4 separate regions of the Homo sapiens genome follow, and regions 2, 3 and 4 are each linked to region 1. The links are contacts of gene promoters, found by promoter capture Hi-C in blood cells and fetal thymus (Javierre and others, 2016). All regions are on one chromosome and are shown on one strand. Each heading gives the region's core, a stretch centred on a gene start or on the middle of the fragment in contact. The rest is flanking DNA. Distances are from core to core; before and after follow the strand shown. Region 1 holds the start of MED12 (mediator complex subunit 12). Region 2 holds the start of GCNA (germ cell nuclear acidic peptidase). Region 3 overlaps OGT (O-linked N-acetylglucosamine (GlcNAc) transferase). Region 4 overlaps TAF1 (TATA-box binding protein associated factor 1).

Region 1 (2,546 bases), core at 18-2,517:
CGTGAGTGGCTTGGTGCCAGCCAAGTCAGTGAACCAAGTGTTAATGGCACTCTGGGATCGTGCAGTCACCAGCCAGAAGTTATCCTTCTGGTTCACTTGGGGCTTCCTGCGACCAGTGTCAGGAAGGGTATTACAACGTAATTTCTCTGCAATAATGCTGCTGAAGTTGGAACTGATCTGAGGGAAGAAAAGTGTACCTCAGGGTGGGAAGAAGGGGCAGACAGGTGGTCCTGCCTTTTGCTGGGCAAATGCCAATGAGATAGTATTAGGTCATGAAGGCAAACTCAGCCACTTAGGTTGTCCCTATAAGTCTTCCCAACCCAGGGCCTTTGCTCCTTCTTAGATTCTTCCAGCCTTTTCCTTCAGCCTGGCAGAGTTGTCTCACCTTGGCAGGATTGAAGCTGACGTTCTTGGCACTGCCATGCTCATCCCCAGAGACAGCAGGCTGGTTATTGAAACCTTGTTTTACATTCAAGGCCGTCAGTTCATCCTGAGGCAGGAAAGCGGCGTTTAGTTGTTTTTTCCTTAGGGGAAGGGGGAAGGGGTGGGAGAGTAGGGCAGGAGAAAAGAAGGAACAAGGTGAAAGGGCAGGAGGAGGGTTCCGTGTAGAACAGATCGTTACTTAAAGCTGGGCCCTTACGTTCACTTGGACCCCACCCTCACTCCCATGGTCACTAGGATTCCCAGCCACCCAGCGCGCCCTCAAACATCACTCTTCTCTTGCGAACAGCCGAGCAGCCGTACCCCACCAAGCTGTCTCAGACAACTTTCTGAGGTGTGTGTGGAGGAGGGCGCCTCTGGTGCGGCCCCTACACCACCCCCTATTCATACCTTGGAACCCCCCACCGCCCCCCGTCCTGCCCTCCCACGCCAGCCCACTTTACTCTTCCCCCTTTCGGGACTTTTGCTCTCACCGAACCGCCCCGCCCCCCATTCCCAGCCGTCAGTGCCTCCTCCTAGGCTGACCGCGTGCCCCCGGCCCCTCCAGAGCCCCGATTTTCGAACGCACCTCCTTCTGTTTGGGGTCCTGAGGGTAAACATCGGGAGGCCCCAGCCGCGGCCGCTTCAGGGGCCGGTGTTCGTAGCTCAAGATCCCGAAGGCCGCCATCTTGCCCAGCCCGTAGCGCCGGAGGCACCAGCAGGGCCAGGCTGACTGGGGGAACGGGAAGGGGGAGAGGGAGCCGAAAAGGGGGGCGGTGGTTGAGAGGACGGCGGCCGAGAGACAACAAGGGGGCACGTTAGAAACTCTCGACCATTGCCGGAAACTACCGAGGGAAGCCGAGGTACGCCGGGAACCATCGGACAATACCGACTGCAGAGGAGGTGGGGCCTGGCCCGGTGGGGGCGGAGCTCTGTGCCCCGGGAGTTTTTCGGCGGTGGCGGCAGCAAGTCGATTTCACTCAGCAAAAATCTATGAAACGTTCCGGAGGCGCAGAATGAGCTGGGGATGCAAACCAGGGAAGAAGGAGGCCTCTGTGGTGCTGAGTTCTGACTGGACTTCGGTTCCCATAGCCTAGCTCGGTTTTGGCCTAGAAAAGTCTTCAATAATATTTGCATTGGTTAGGAACTCCGTCTATTACAGATCAGTTCGTTTCTTAGTTCCGGCATCTGAAAAATAGGTGCGCTAACACCTCCTTCAAGGGGCTATTGTGAACATTAGAAACTATGTATGCATGAGAAAGAACCTATTAAACCCTGAAAGGCTGGCTCTAATCCCTCAAGGTCTACCATCGAGTTGTCTAACCTTTTCTTGTTTGTTTTTCTGCCCAAGGGTACCGCATACTAACGTTTTTGATTCACAAACCCTTAAAGGTGCTGATGAAAGCTATGGACCTTCTTCCCAGAAATAATAATAATAATAATAATAATATGCATATATTGACATGCAAAATGTTGCTTTAGATTCTTAGATCCCCTGAAGTTCATCCATGTATCCCCTAAGGGTCCATGAACTCCAGGTTAAGAACCCTTGGTCTAGCTAAAGAGGCACCTATTGTGTCAGATGCTTTTCAGACACTATCTCCTTTAATCTGCTCACAGCCTCATGAGTTAGGGATTATTATTGGCTCGATTTTGCGGATGGAGGAAGCTGGTTTTCAAAGTGTGAAAATTCACTTATCCAATATTATACAGCTACTGAGTAACAGAGCTGGCACTAAGATTCTGAATTCCAGAGCCAATATCCTATTGTCGTATTGCTATTTGTTTATTTTGAGGCAGGTTCTCCCTCTGTCGCCTAGGCTGGAGTGCAGTGGCGCTATCACGGCTCACTGCAGCATCAACCTTCTGGACTCCAGCGATCCTCCCGCCTCAGCCTCCCAGTAGCCTGGACTACAGGCGTGCGCCACTGTGCCGGCCTTGTATTGCCTTTTAGAGAAAAGACAGCCAGTGTGCTGTAACAAAAGTAACAAATAACAATAAACAAAAATAACACCAGTAACAAAAATAACAAAATGCTATTGAATCACAATGGAAAGAAGAAGTAATTCAAGGCGGGGAGTGGTGGCTCACGTCCGTAATCCCAGCACTTTGGGAGGCCAAGGCAG
Region 2 (2,546 bases), core at 31-2,530, 460 kb before region 1:
ACTCCCCCACACTTCTATCCAACTTCTGCCCTACCCCACTCCTGTCTCCCACCACCACTCAGTCCTCAGCCAAAGAGACCTCAACCCCCACACACACACCCCTACCCACAACCACTAGCTCCCACCTCCCCCCAATGCTGCAACGGGCACCCCCACTTCTCCCCACAGCCACTGGCACCCCCACCTCCAATGCCACCACCAGCATCCTCACTTCTCCCCACGCCCACCAGCACCACCACGTGCTCCTAGGCCACTTCCACCACCACCAAGTGTTCCTACGCCGCCACCAGAACCCCCCACTTCCCTCAACGCCCCCATTGGCACCCCCACCTTCAATGCGGCCACCGGCGCCTCCACTTCTCCCCACACCGCCAGCGCTACTATGTGCTCCTATGCCACCAACGCCACCAAGTACTCCTAGGCCGCAACTGGCACCCCCACCTCCCCCCACGCTGCCACTGGCATCCCTACTTCTCCCCACCCGCCACTAGGGACACCACCTGTTCCTACACCACCACTGGGGCCCCCACCTCCCCCCAGTGCCGCAACCAGCGCCCTCACTTCTCCCCGCGCCGCCACCGGCGCCACGTATTCCTACATAGCCACTGGCGCCACCACACGCTCCTACGCCACCACCAGCGCTCCCACTTCCCCCAAGGCCGCCAATGGTGCCCCTACTTCTCCCCACACCGTCACTGGTGCTACCACATGCTCCTACACCACCACCAGCACCCCCACTTCCCCGACACTGCCACAGGCACCCCCACTTCCCCCAACGCCGCCACTGGTGCCCCTACTTCTCTCCACCCGCCACTGGCACCAACACCTCCTTCTACGCCACCACCAGGCCCCCCACTATCTGCAATGACGCCACCAGCGCCCCTTCTCCCCACGCCGCCACTGGCACTACCAGCTGCTCCTACGCCGCCACCGGCGCCCCCACCCCTCCCAATGCCGCCACTGGCGCCACCATATGTTTCCTACACCACCATGGGCGCCCCCACCTCCCCCAATGCTACCACTGGCGCCTCCACTTCTCCCCTCGCTGCCACTTCCTCTACTCCCACCTCAGGCCTACACGGGCAACCAGAGTCCAAGGTATACAGTGGTCCTGATTTTAATTAAGTCACTCAATTAGGATTAACCTCTGGACCACTTCAGCACCCATCTCAGTCCGACCAGCCGGTCACCTACCTGGTGTTGCAGCCTCTGGCGTGGCCGGCAGCAGCTCACCTCCAACTGCCCGTGGAGTGTGTGCAAAGATCCGGAGCAACTGCGATGAACAACGCCAGGCGCAGGCCCCTTTATAGTGCCCGGACCTAGGGGGCGGTAGCAGTAATTCACGTGTGCTCGCCCGCGCTCCCCTGTACCCACCTATCACAGTGGTCACAAGACAAATTTGAACTTCGCGCCTGTGAACTTGGCGCCTAGCTGTAACGCTTCCGGGATCAGGTCTGTCGCTTTCCACTCCCACGGATGTTGCTTATTTGTCCCAAAACCGCCATTTCAATACTAGAGCGTGGGCACCCGAGGCCAATTCTGCGATTAAAAGTCCCTAACAACTTTCTGATAAAGAGAAACCATGTGAAATCGTTCATAACAAACTTTTATCCTGCGAGAACTTGGATAAGCGAGCCTTGTTCCTTACTTGAATTGTCCAGACCTCTAAGTCCGTTATTGCAACCACTGGGAAAGGGCGCGGGGGGAGGGGCGGGGGCACGAGAACTGGAGCGAAGGCGCGGGAGCAGGGGCGTGGACGGGAACACCGAGGGGAGGGCGGGGCGCGGGGGGACGCGGGAGCGCAGGGGGGCGGGGGTTGCAGGGAAGGCCATCTAGACCCCTAGATAAGAGCAAGGCAGCAACTCAACAGCGCCTGGCAACGGCGAACTATGATGTTTACTTCCAGAACCCTCCAAACCCTGGAGATAAAAAAAGGTTACTTGAGGCTTTTTGGCACTCACTCCATACACACCAAGAAAAACAAACGGGGAAAACAGCGCTTTCTAGATTGTGCCAGTTTCTCCAGCGAGCATCTATATATTTCGTAATGTATGCCTTTGGGTAACAGAACACACATAAAATGTCCCTGCGTTTGATACTATTTTGTGCTAAGCATTATTCCAAGTGTCTTACGACTTAATTCATACAACACTTTAAAAAGTAGGCAACTGTTAGCACTCTCATTTTAGAGATCACACAGCTAGAAAGTGGCAGAGCTGGCCGGGCACAGTGGCTCACGCCTGTAACCCCAGCACTTTGGGAGGCTGAGGCGGGTGGATCACGAAGTCAGGAGCTTGAGACCAGCCTGGTCAACATGGTGAAACCCCGTCTCTACTAAAGATAAAAAAAAAAAAATAGCCGCGTGTGGTGGCCCGCGCCTGTAATCCCAGCTACTCGGGAGGCTGAGGCAGGAGAATCGCTGGAACCTGGGAGGCGGAGGTTGCAGTGAGCCGAGATCGTGCCATTGCACTCCAGCATGGGGACAGGGCGAGACTCCATCTCAAAAAAAAAAAAAAAAGTGGCAGAGCTGAGATTCAAACTCCAAC
Region 3 (2,546 bases), core at 23-2,522, 430 kb before region 1:
ATTTTTGGAGACGGAGTGTCACTCATTATTTATTTTTGGAGACGGAGTGTCACTCACTCTGTCGCCCAGGCTGGAGTGCAGTGGCACGATCTTGGCTCACCGCAACCTCCTCCTCCTCCCGGGTTCAGGCAATTCTCCTGCCTCAGCCTCCTAAGTAGCTGGGATTACAGGCACACGCCACCGCACCGCACCCAGCTGTTTTTTTTTTCTTTTGTATTTTGAGTAGAGATGGGGTTGCACCATGTTGGCCAGGCTGGTCTCGAACTCCTGACCTCAAGTGATCCACTCGCCTCAGCCTCCCAAAGTGCTGAGATTACAGGGGTGAGCTACCGCACCCGGCCTAAAAGTTTAATTTAAATCTCCATTTTTATTACAATTTGTTGAAGTAAGAAGGTCAGCTTCCCAAAGTTTGAATTTTGCTGACTGCATCCCTATGGTGTCCTTTAACATGTTTCCTGTCCCGTGTATATCTCCTGTAAATTGGTAGGTAGAACCAGAAGCTTAATTAGGTTTGTGTTCTTTTCTCTTTGTGCAAGACTACTTCACTGGTGAAATTGTTTACCACAAGGTACTTAATACCTGATTGTATCTCGTTTTTGTCACTGATAAATGCTTTAACTTTTTTTTTATTTTTTGAGATGGAGTCTTGCTCTGTCGCCCAGGCTGGAATGCAATGGTGCAATCTCAGCTCACTGCAACCTCCACCTCCCAGGTTCAAGAGATTCTCCTGCCTCCGCCTCCTGAGTAGCTGGGATTACAGGCTCCTGCTACCATGCCTGGCTAATTTTTGTATTTTTAGTAGAGATGGGGTTTTGCCATGTTGGCCAGGCTGGTCTCGAACTCCTGACCTCAGGTGATCCACCTGCCATGGCCTCCCGAAGTGCTGGGATTACAGGCGTGAGCCACCAAGCCCGGCCTAATAAATGCTTTCACTATTAATGGTGATATTCTATCATTCCTTCTTCACTTATTAGCTAGAATGCTTTTATAAAGAAAAGCTTCCCCCATCAACTATTGGGTTACTCTATGGTCTAGTTCATACAGGAGAGGGAAGACATATGCTTTATTCTTTTAATTTTTAAATTTAAAGTTGATATATAATTGTGTATATTTATGGCATACAATGTGATGGTTTGATCCACGTATACATTTTAGAAAGAGTCAACCAAGCTAATTAACATAGCCATCACCTCACTAACTTATTTTTTTGTGGTTGAGGACATTAAAAACCTATTCTTTTTGCAATTTTGAAATATACATTATTAACAACTGTGGTCACCATGCAGTACTACAGATCACTAAAACTTATTCCTCCAGTCTAACTGAAACTTTGATCAATATCTCCCTTTTCCCCATCCCTCCTCCACCCCCCCAAGCCTCACCACCCTTCTACTCTCTGTTTCTATGAAATCAACTTTTTTAGATTCCACAAATAGGTGACATAATACAGTATCTACTTTCTGTGCCTGGTTTATTTCACTTAGCATAAAGCACAGATAACAAAAGCAAAAATATGCAATGAGATTGCATCAAACTAAAAAGCTTCTGCACAGTAAAGGAAACAATTACACAGAGTGAATAGGCAACCCCGGATTAGGAGAAAGCATTTGCAAACTATACAACTGATAAAGGGTTAAGAAGCTCAACTCAGTAGCAAATACGCCCATTAAAATACGGGCAAAGGATCTAAACAGACATTTCTCAAAAGAAGAGGTACAGGCCAGACACAGTGGCTCATGTCTGTAATCCTATCACTTGGGGAGACCAAGGTGGGAGGATCACTTGAGCCCAGGAGTTCGAGGTTGCAGTGAGCTATTATGGCGCCACTGCACTCCAGCCTGGGCAACAGAGCAGGACCTCATCTCAAAAAAACAAAACAAAACAAAACAAAAAAAACAAATGGCAAGCAGATATATAAAAAATATGCTCAACATCACTAATCATCAAGGAAATGCAAAATAAAACCATGAGTTAGCATCTCACACTTGTTAGTATAGCTATCATCAAAAGGACGAATAATAACAAGTGTTAGTGAGGATGTAAAGAAAGGGAAGCCTTGTAACTGATGGGGGAAGTATAAATTGGCACAGCCATTTTGGGAACTAGTATAGAGGTTCCTCAAAAACTTTATTCTTCTCTTTTTAACCAGTTTTCCAAATTAATTGTTCCTTGTAAGTCTTCCAAAGATGACCAATGAATTTTTTAGCATAATTATAAGCTCATAGATTTAAACATACTTGATAAGTTTTAGTATATTTCAGTTATTATTCCTATTGATGCTCAAGTCTGCATCTTTAGCCAGTGGGAGCCTCCTCAAGTTGCTTCCTGAGTCCTTTTGATGCAAAGTAATATGTCAAAGCTTCCTTGCTTTCTGGTATGACAAGACATTCCAAAAATTTTTTTTAAATTCCTGCCCCAGACCTGGAATCTGCCTTTTCACCAAGAAGCCCTGCTTCTTTAAAGCCCATTTATAAAAATCATTTTTAATTACTAAAGTACATTTTTTTTGAGACAGGGTCTCACACCATCACCCAGGCTGGAGTGCA
Region 4 (2,546 bases), core at 31-2,530, 270 kb before region 1:
CAAAGATGCGCTGACATTCCTCTTTGTAACGCTCTTGATGCTCAGCCACAGAAAACCTTGATCCACGGGCAAATTTACTCATGGGCCCCTCTCCAGAACGAGCCTGTTCTGTTGACATTGTGCGCACCACATCAATCACTTCCCAGCGGGACAACTTTTTAATCTACGAGACAAATAGCCACACACAAATATAAATATACACACACACACACACACACACACACACACACACACACACAAATCATTCAGGGATTTCAAAGGACAAGCCAATGTACACAGTTAGACCAAAAAAGAAAAATCACCCCAAAGCAGATTACATAGAAAGATAACTCCTAAAACAATATCTAAGACTTAGCTTACTATACCCTACAATAAAGTTCCCCAGATAGTTCTTTACATCTGCCTCCTAGCAATTCCAACTCTATACAAAGCCCCTAGTATACTCTAAATTTTCCACTTCCACACTCACCTCTTCCTCAGGCACACCAAATTTACGTAGAAGTTGCTTGGCATTTTTCAGGGAAAGGCGACGAAGGTCTGCATCTGTTCCTGTCACTGTCTTCTTCACTGGCTGCGGTTCTTTATCATCCTACCTCAAACAAAAAAAAGTGAGACTCCTAAAAACCTGAATTCCTTTTAAGTAGGCATCTAAGTCATTCTGCTACCTTAACTACATTCCAAGTCCTCCACTCACCCATTTCTTTCTCCCTTGACTTTTTCATTCTAGAAATAAACACAATCTCACCTTCTGCTGTGTTGGTTTGTTTGGAATCTTCACATAGGAGAATCCTTCACCACACCCCGTGGGATCTGCCACCCCAGTCACCTCTAGCAGACACTTGCCCTTCATGGCAGCAATGAAGGCCCTTGTGGTGTTCCAAGGGGCAGTGCGAACCTGAGATAAAGAAAAAGATTCTCAGGGCAGTGGGAAACATTTGTTCTATGTCTAGCCAATATCTACAAGAGTAGAATAATTACAAACTATTTTCATGTTCTTTTTTTCTAATTTTTAATTTCTGTGGGTTCATGCTCTCTTAAACTGTCCACAAAAATCAACAGTTAAATATAGCTACCTAGTACTCAGTTCTCTTCTATCCTATGGTACAATACTTACAACATGATATTAAATAGAGGTCAAGAGCTCAGGCAGGATAAGGAGAAAAATAAAGAACAGTGGTATCCCTTCAGCCCCTTATCCCTTGGGCTTCAATAAACATTCTTAAGGACAGTGTTTCCCTCACCCTCATGATGCTCAAAATTAGACTAATGACTACATTTGATTGTCCAATTGCTCAAACAGCTGTTTTAGAATGAAACCTATTTTCTCGAAATACTTGACATGCTTGCTTTCAAAGCATTGGCCCCTTTTCCAGTGACACTAAACCAAAGTCCATTCTATTTCTGCCACTGGTTTGGTCAAAAAGGTCTGTCCTCTCCTGGGACCCTGAATAGTGTTTACCAACCCCTGCAAGATTCTTAAAGAATTAAGCCAAGGGGTGAATGTGCCTGCCCACACAGACCAGTCAGGAGTACATGAGGCCAGGTGTGGTGACTCACACCTGTAATCCCAACACTCTGGGAGGCTGAGGCGGGCAGATCTCTTGAGGCCAGGAGTTCAAGACCAGCCTGGCCAACATGGTGAAACCCCATCTCTACTAAAAGTACAAAAATTAGCCAGGCGTGGTGGCGCACACCTATAGTCCCAGCTACTCAGAAGGCTGAGGCACGAGAATGGCTTGAACCCAGCAGGCAGAGGTTGCAGTCAGCAGACTGCACCACTGCACTCCAGCCTGGGAGACAGAGTGAGACTCTGTCTCAAAAAAAAAAAAAAAAAGAGTATATATGATTAGCAAGAAAATGGCCATTCTCTAAGGTTCAATCTGGAAAGCCATTCAACAGAATTCTTTTTTTATTTTTAATTTAAAAAAAATTGTTTTTCTTTTTTAGAGACAGGGTCTCACTATGTTGGCCAGGTTGGTCTTGAACCCTTGGCCTCAAGTAACCCTCCCACCTTGGCCTCCCCAAATGCTATGATTACAGGCCTGAGCCACTGCGCCTGGCCTCAAAAGAATTCTTAATTTCTGAAATTCTTAGATATCCACTCATTTTTCATTCCAACCTCAAGAGAGTAGTACAACGATTCTTTACTCACTCTGTGTGGCCTCATTTTCTGCTTCATTTTATAATCACTTAATTCATTTAACAAATATTTATTGAATACCAACTACACACTACTCCTCCATACTACTTTTTCATGAACCTCAAGTTAGTGAGGGAAAAACAGCCAACCAAGTTCAGTACTATGTGATCAGTGCCACGGGAAGAAAGTAGAGGCCAGGCACAGTGGTTCATGCCTATCATCCCAACACTTTAGAAGGCCAAGGCAGGACGATCGTTTGAGCCTAGGAGTTCAAAATCAGCCTGGGCAACACAGTAAGATCCCATTTCTTTCTTTCTTTTTTTTTTTTGAGATGGAGATTCGTTCTTTTAGTCCAGGCTGGACTACAATGGCGTGGTCTCAGCTCCCGGCAACCTCCACCTCCCAG

The links. Contacts are between HindIII fragments. The CHiCAGO score rates a contact against its expected background, and 5 or more counts as called.
Region 2: the fragment with the promoter of GCNA here is called in contact with the fragment with the promoter of MED12 in region 1 in 4 of 17 cell types (naive CD8 T cells, total B cells, naive CD4 T cells and 1 more); the score reaches 6.6 in naive CD8 T cells.
Region 3: a contact is called between a fragment that was not itself captured here and the fragment with the promoter of MED12 in region 1, in 1 of 17 cell types (non-activated CD4 T cells). The highest score is 8.5, in non-activated CD4 T cells.
Region 4: a contact is called between a fragment that was not itself captured here and the fragment with the promoter of MED12 in region 1, in 1 of 17 cell types (non-activated CD4 T cells). The highest score is 5.9, in non-activated CD4 T cells.

The regions. Positions count from the first base shown.
Region 1 is chrX:71,117,317-71,119,862 of GRCh38, reverse strand. MED12 (mediator complex subunit 12) reads right to left here and starts at 1,267. Exons shown (of 45, transcript NM_005120.3): 1 at 1,010-1,267; 2 at 386-490; 3 at 1-177. The coding sequence starts at 1,108. The HindIII fragment of the contact is 19,646 bases long and covers 1-2,546 here.
Region 2 is chrX:71,577,171-71,579,716 of GRCh38, reverse strand. GCNA (germ cell nuclear acidic peptidase) reads right to left here and starts at 1,280. Exons shown (of 13, transcript NM_052957.5): 1 at 1,195-1,280. RefSeq lists an enhancer at 432-1,073. The HindIII fragment of the contact is 6,206 bases long and covers 1-2,546 here.
Region 3 is chrX:71,549,721-71,552,266 of GRCh38, reverse strand. The region is part of intron 5 of OGT (O-linked N-acetylglucosamine (GlcNAc) transferase); the gene reads right to left. Among named protein-coding and RNA genes, the nearest start is that of OGT, 18 kb to the right of the region's middle. The HindIII fragment of the contact is 544 bases long and covers 1,001-1,544 here.
Region 4 is chrX:71,390,918-71,393,463 of GRCh38, reverse strand. It overlaps TAF1 (TATA-box binding protein associated factor 1), which reads right to left. Exons shown (of 38, transcript NM_004606.5): 19 at 746-895; 20 at 470-589; 21 at 1-163. Among named protein-coding and RNA genes, the nearest start is that of TAF1, 26 kb to the right of the region's middle. The HindIII fragment of the contact is 3,497 bases long and covers 1-2,546 here.